Regions from separate parts of the Homo sapiens genome. Here region 2 is linked to region 1. The links are contacts of gene promoters, found by promoter capture Hi-C in blood cells and fetal thymus (Javierre and others, 2016). All regions are on one chromosome and are shown on one strand. Each heading gives the region's core, a stretch centred on a gene start or on the middle of the fragment in contact. The rest is flanking DNA. Distances are from core to core; before and after follow the strand shown.

Region 1 (3,500 bases), core at 575-3,074:
ACCATGTTGGCCAGACGGGTCTCGAACTCCTGACCTCAAGTGATCTGCCCATCTCAGCCTCCCAAAGTGCTGGGATTACAGGCGTGAGCCACCGCGCCCGGCCAAAAAAAGGAATAAATTATAACCAAATATGATAACATGGAAGAACTGCAAAGACAAGACGTGGAGAGAAAGAACCCAGATTCAATACAGGAGTCCATTTTTATCCAGCTCAAAACAAGACAAAACTACTGCGCCAGACTTCGGGCGAGTGGGGATCTGTGGGAATTCGTGCTGGGAAGAAAGACAGGGGGCTTGTGGAGGGTGAGAATGTTCTGTGTCTGGATTTGTATGAATGTCACACAGGTTTGCTCAGTTGGTGACATTTCATCAACCTAAATACTTAATGATTCGTGATCTTTTTTGTACTTCAATTTAAAAAAAAGTGTCGAGCATGACACATTTAGGTAAAAAGAAAAAAATGCACACTCAAAAGAAAAGTCTGTTTCTAGGAGCACATGTTTATATGATGTGCTTAAACGCACAGACAGCAGTTTGGACGAAACTCGACAACGTGTCATATTGGTCACACCCTGCTTAAGAAAGGCAGGGGATGGGGAGGGGCTTCCCCAAGGCTTTACCTCCATCTCTAATGTTTTTTGATGTGTGTGTGTGTTTTTTTTTTTTGTTTTTTGTTTTTTGAGACAGGGTCTGGCTCTGCCACGCAGACTGAAGTGCAGTGGCACCATCATGGTTCACTGCAGCCTCGACCTCCTTGGGCTCAAGCAATCTTCTAGCCTCAGCCTCCTGAGTAGCTGGGACTACAAGTGTGCATCACTACGCTCAGCTAACTTTTTTTTTTTGAGACAGAGTTTCGCTCCTGTTGCCCAGGCTGGAGTGCAATGGCGCGATCTCGGCTCACGGCAACCTCCGCCTCCTGGGTTCAAGCAATTCTCCTGCCTCAGCCTGCCGAGTAGCTGGGATTACAGGCATGTGCCACAACGCCTGGCTAATTTTGTATTTTTAGTAGAGACGGGGTTTCTCCATGTTGCTCAGGCTGGTCTTAAACTCCCAACCTCAGGTGATCCGCCCACCTCGGCCTCCCAAAGTGCTGGGATTGCAGGAGTGAGCCACCACACCGGCCTAACGTTTTACATTTTTTGTAGAGACGGGGTTTTGTCACGTTGTTCAAGCTGGTCTCAAACTCTTAGACTCAAGCGATCCGCCTGCCTTGGCCTCCCAAAGTGCTGGATGACAGGCGTGAGCCCCTGTGAGCCCCCGTGCCTGGTCCGGTATGTAATTTTTTTTAAGGTAACAGTGGATTGTGTGAGGATTAAATGAGTTAATATTTTTAAAGTCCTTACAGCAGTGTGTGGTACACAGTAGGTGCTATGTGGAGGTTTGTTACAATAAAGTCAGAAAGTGAAAATGTTTTCCAGGGTACAAATGGTATCACTTAAACTAGGAATAAGAGACGCCTATGAAGAAATATACAAAATACTATGTCTTGTGAGTTTCCATTCAAACCTTCATGAATTATATATATGAATATGTCCTTCTAGACAGACAGACTTATCTTTTTGAGTGAGTGTGTGTGTTTTTACATAAATATCAGTCATGCTTTAAAAAGAAAAGCCCCTTCTTTTATTGAAGTATGACAGTGACGGGTCTCGACACCGAAAGATGGGGGAGATAGAGAGCCCGCCGGGGAGCTTGAGGGTGGGAGAGCCAGCGATGCCGGAAACCTCAGCAGAAGGGATCCCCGTGTGGGGGAGGGGGGCCTTCGGTCTCTCCCCAGCCTCTTCCTTCCCCCTGGCCTGAGGGTGGGTGGGGAGGGGCAGTTCCTCTTTCCTTCCCAAGCACCGAGGAGGCCCCAGCTCCCTAGGGGCTGAGAAGCTGGAGTCCTGGGCAAGGGGAGGAGCTGAGCCCTACTCTTGCAAGACCCCCGGCCTCCTCACCCCACGCGGGAAGCATGAACAGAAAAGACAGTAAGAGGTGAGAGGACCCTCCCCAGGGAGCCCGGCAGCACCCTGAGGCCTCCCTCTGCATGGGAGGGCTGGGGAGATCACTCGCCAGGGTGGCAGGATTCCTGACTTCTTTGGGATCAGGCGCAGGGGGGCCAGGTGGATGCTTCAGGGAGTCTGGAGCCAGCTACGGCTGCAGTCGCTTGTATGTGGCATCTGTACCGTGTTGTCCCTGGAGTTTGAGCTGCTCCGTGCCCCTTTTCCACTCCTCATCACCCCACCTCCATCCCTGGCCTGGGCTGAGTGTCTCTGCCCTCCCTGGGGGCTTCCTGGTTCCCCATCCCCGTGGACTGGAAACTCCAGGCTCCTGCAGGGCCTGGCCCAGGAGAGGGGAGTGTGGCACAGGGCAAGGCGACTCCCCTGCCTCTTAAACCACTCCTGGCTGTTCCAGACCCCTACAGGGGGCTGCAGGACAGGGCCTAGTGGCTGGCTGTGCGGCCGGTTCTGGAATGGGCTTCATCTCCTGGGCAAGCTGGCCCTTCTGTCCCCACAGAGGCAGATGGTGGGTGGCTCCCTAGCCTGGGTAACTCCTCCTGCCACCCCCAGCACCACTCTGATGGGCAAAGGGCTTTCCTCCCCACCCAGCAGTTTAGTGGTAGACTCCTGGCTGCCTAATTTCCTAGCTGTGTGACCTTAGGTAAGTCACTTAACTGCTCTGTGTCTCGGGTTTTTCTTCTGTCAGTAGAACAATCATATCCTCTACCTCGGAGAGGCCTGTAAGTACTCAATGAGACACTCTAGACCAGTGGTTCTCAAACTGGAGCGAGCCTCAGAACTGTCTGGAGGGCTTGTAAAATACAGGTTGCTGGGCTTACCTTTAAAGTGTTTGGTTTTTTTTTTTTTGTTTTTTTTTTTTGAGACGGAGTCTCGCTCTGCCGCCAGGCTGGAGTGCAGTGGCACAATCTTGGCTCACTGCAACCTCTGCCTCCCGGGTTCAAGCGATCATCCTGCCTCAGCCTCCCAAGTAGCTGGGACTACAGGTGTGCACCACCACACCCAGCTACTTTTTTGTATTTTTAGTAGAGATGGGGTTTCACCATGTTGGGCAGGATGGTCTCGATCTCTTGACCTCGTGATCCACCCACCTCGGCCTCCCAAAGTGCTGGGATTAGAGGCATGAGCCACCACCCTTAGCCTTAAAGTGTTTGATTTTGTAGGTCTGGGTTGGGACCTGAGAATCTGTATTGATATCCAGTTCCCAGGTGATGCTTTTGGTACTAGCTGGGTGCCCACACTTAGGGAAATGCTGACTTAGTTAGAATGCTCCTTCCTTAGCCTAGGACATATATAATACTTTAAAATGTCCCTTCTAGTAACGATGGCTCATGCCTCTAATCCCAGCACTTTGGGAGGATAAGACAAGGAGAACTTGAAGCCAGGAGTTCTAGACCAGCCTGAGAAATATAGTGAGACCCCCCCCCCCATTGACACACACCCAAACACACACACAAAATTAGCTGGGTATGGTCGTGCACACCTGTAGTCCCAGCTACCTGG
Region 2 (3,500 bases), core at 693-3,192, 650 kb before region 1:
TTTTCTTTCCTTTTTCTTTTCTATTTTTCCGAGTCTTACTCTGTCGCCCAGGCTGGAGTGCAATGGTGCAATCTTGGCTCACTGCAATCTCCGCCTCCCAGCAGAACCATTTCCTTTCATCCCAAACTTTGAGCTCCATGATTTCATCCTGACTGCATATGATGTCACATGTCAGGGGACCTGTGAGCCACCGGAGGTGAGCAGCATGCCCAGGGCACAGCTCACCTCCCGAGAGATGCCACCCTGCTTCAAATTACAGCAGGAAGGAAGAGTGACTCACCCTCTCAGATGTGGAGGCTTCCTGTGACGGACCCAGGACAGCCCACCCCACACTTCACCTCATAATCACAGCCACAGCCAGTTCACTGGAGGCTTCCTGTGAACCGTGTATGATTGCATGGATTCCTCACCACTTCACATGGTCCCATTTTGTATTACAGAAGAGGAAACTGAGGTTCAGAGGAGTGAGCTCACTTACCTGACATCACACTGTCAGTAAGAAGAATAGCTAAGCCAGGTGCGGTGGCTCATGCCTGTAATCCCAGCACTTTGGGAGGCCAAGGCGGGTGGATCGCCTGAGGTCAGGAGTTCGAGACCAGCCTGGCCAACATGGTGAAACTCTGTCTCTACTAAAAATACAAAAATTAGCCAGGCATAGTGATGGACGCCTGTGTTCCCAGCTACTCAGGAAGCTGAGACAAGAGAATCTCTTGAACCTGGGATGTGGAAGTTGCAGTAAGCTGAGATTGCACCATTGCACTCCAGCCTGGGCAACAGAGCAAGACTCTGTGTCAAAAAACAAACAAACAAACAAACAAAAAACCTGAGATTCATTCCTTTCTGCACACTTGGCCTTAACCACCAGGCCCCACTGTCTCCGATTCATCCCTCTGCCATCTCATCCTGGATTTCAGGCCTCAGGTCCTGTGTCATCTCCCAGCATGGTTTTGTTTTTGTCTTTTTTTCTTTTCTTTTTTTTTTTTTTAAGATGAAGTTTTGCTCTTGTTGCCCAGGCTGGAGTGCAATGGCGCAATGTTGGCTCACTGCAATCTCCGCCTCCGGGGTTCAAGCAATTCTCCTGCCTCAGCCTCCTGAGTAGCTGGGATTACAGGCATGCACCACCACGCCCAGCTAATTTTGCATTTTTAGTCAAGACGGAGTTTCTCCATGTTGGTCAGGCTGGTCTCGAAGTCCCGACCTCAGGTGATCCACCTGTCTTGGCCTCTCAAAGTGCTAGGATTACAGGCGTTAGCCACCCTTCCTGGCCATGTATTTTGTTTTTTAAGACAGGGTCTCATTCTGTTGCCTAGGCTGCAGTGCAGTGTCATGATCATAGCTCACTGCAGCCTCGAACTCCTGGACTCAAGTGATCTTCCCACTTCAACCTCCCTAGTAGCTGAGACTACAGTTTCACACCACCTCACCCACCTGATTTTTAAAAATTTTTTGTAGACACAGTCTCGCCTTGCTGACCAGGCTGGTCTCAAACTCCTGGGCTGAAGCGATCCACCTGCCTTGGACTCCCAGCGTGCTGGGATTATAGGCGTGAGCCACTGCACGTGGCCTCCAAGCATCACTGTATCATCAGGTGGACATAACAGTTCCATAAAATCCGGAATTGAGGCCAGGGACAGACTAAACCCTCAAACAAACATGAGCTCTTATAAATATTGGCCCAACTATTTATTTATTTTTATTTTATTATTATTTTTTTTTTTTTGACAGAGTCTTGCTCTGTCGCCTAGGCTGGAGCACAGTGGTGTGATCTTGGCTCACTGCAACCTCTGCTACTTGGGTTCAAGTGATTCTCCTGCCTCAGCCTTCCAAGTAGCTGGGAATACAGGCACATGACACCATGCCTGGATAATTTTTGTTTTTTGTTTTTTGAGACGGAGTCTCACTCTGTTGCCCAGGCTGGAGTGCAGTGGCGCGATTACGGCTCACTGCAAGCTCCACCTCCCGGGTTCATGCCATTCTGCTGCCTCAGCCTCCCAAGTAGCTGGGCCTACAGGTGCCCGCCACCATGCCCGGCTAATTTTTTTTTGTATTTTTTAGTAGAGACGGGGTTTCACCTTGTTAGCCAGGATGGTCTCGATCTCCTGACCTCGTGAACCACCTGCCTCGGCCTCCCAAAGTGCTGGGATTACAGGCGTGAGCCACTGCACCCGGACTTTTTTTTTTTTTTTTTTTAGTAGAGACAGGGTTTTACCATGTTGGCCAGGCTGCTCTTGAACTCCTGACCTCAAATGATCTGCCCACCTCGGCCTCCCAAAGTGCTGGGATTACAGGTGTGAGCCACCATGCCTGGCCCCAACTATTTATTGTACCATTGTTGGGTACACCATTTTCCACTGTAGTCACATTGAGGAGTGTTGGAAGATTTTAAAGTCCTACGGGGGTGTGCTCGGGAGGCTGAGGTGAGAGGATCACTTGATCCCAGGAGACTGCAGTGAGCTGTGATCATGCCACTGCACTCCAGCCTGGGCAACGGAGCAAGACCCTGTCCCCCCCAAAAAATTGCCTTAAAAAATATCTTATTAGGCTGGACGCAGTGGCTCACGCCTGTAATCCCAGCACTTTGGGAGGCCGAGGCGGGCCGATCGCTTGAGCCCAGGAGTTTGAGACCAGCCTGGCCAACATGGCTAAACCTCGTCTCTACAAAAAATACAAAAATTAGCCAGGTGTGGTGGTGTGTGCCCGTGGTCCCAGCTATTCAGAAAGCTGAGATGGGAGGATCACTTGAGCCTGGGAGGGAGGCAGAGGTTGCAGTGAGCCAAGATCTCACCACTGCACTCCAGCCTTGGTAGATCCTGTCTGTAAATAAATAAATAAAAACCCACTGGAGAGCAAGGCTCATCCTTCTGTGTGAGGAAAGGGCAGCCTGGCCCCTGCTGTGTGAAGGATGAGCTGGGTCATATCAAGATCAAATCTGGTGTGATCTTCCCTGAGGGTCTACACTAATCCTTCCTCGTGAGTTCAGTGGGTGAGAACAGGAGTTGAGTCCTAGAGGGCACATGACTCACCACCAACTGGGGGATCTGTCAGGGCTGAAGCGTGGGTCACGCTGTGCATGGTCAGCAGGAGTGTGGTCAGCTCTGTGTATCCTACCTCCAGGAACACCCCAGCCCTCCACAGGCTCTCAGGCGTGGGCCCAGCAGCACAGTTACTAGAGGGAAACGAGTATACCCCTGGGTCCATGGCAGGTCACTCAGGGAGAACAGGCTCTCTGCCATGGTCCATGGCAGGTCTCGCAGGGAGAACAGGCTCTCTGCCATGGTCAAGGCAAGTCAAGTATAGACAGGAATGTGAGCCGGGTGTGGTGGCTCCCAGCACTTTGGGAGGCTGAGGTGGGAGGATCTCTTGAGCCCAGGAGTTCAAGAGCAGCTTGGGTGATGTAGTGAGACCCTGTCTCTGGTTAAAAAGAAAGGAAGAATGTGGTTCATGTTCACCCAGCCATACTCTCCTCAACTTAAAAAACAAAACAAAGGCCGGGTGCAGTG

Evidence for each region. Contacts are between HindIII fragments. The CHiCAGO score rates a contact against its expected background, and 5 or more counts as called.
Region 2: a fragment that was not itself captured here is called in contact with the fragment with the promoter of RASGRP4 in region 1 in 1 of 17 cell types (erythroblasts); the score reaches 6.4 in erythroblasts.

What each region holds. Positions count from the first base shown.
Region 1 is chr19:38,424,543-38,428,042 of GRCh38, reverse strand. It overlaps RASGRP4 (RAS guanyl releasing protein 4), which reads left to right and starts at 1,824. Exons shown (of 17, transcript NM_170604.3): 1 at 1,824-1,974. The coding sequence starts at 1,952. RefSeq lists an enhancer at 482-996 and a silencer at 1,889-1,948. The HindIII fragment of the contact is 20,985 bases long and covers 1-3,500 here.
Region 2 is chr19:39,070,577-39,074,076 of GRCh38, reverse strand. No RefSeq gene overlaps it. Among named protein-coding and RNA genes, the nearest start is that of ACP7, 12 kb to the left of the region's middle. RefSeq lists an enhancer at 1-630. The HindIII fragment of the contact is 4,805 bases long and covers 1-3,500 here.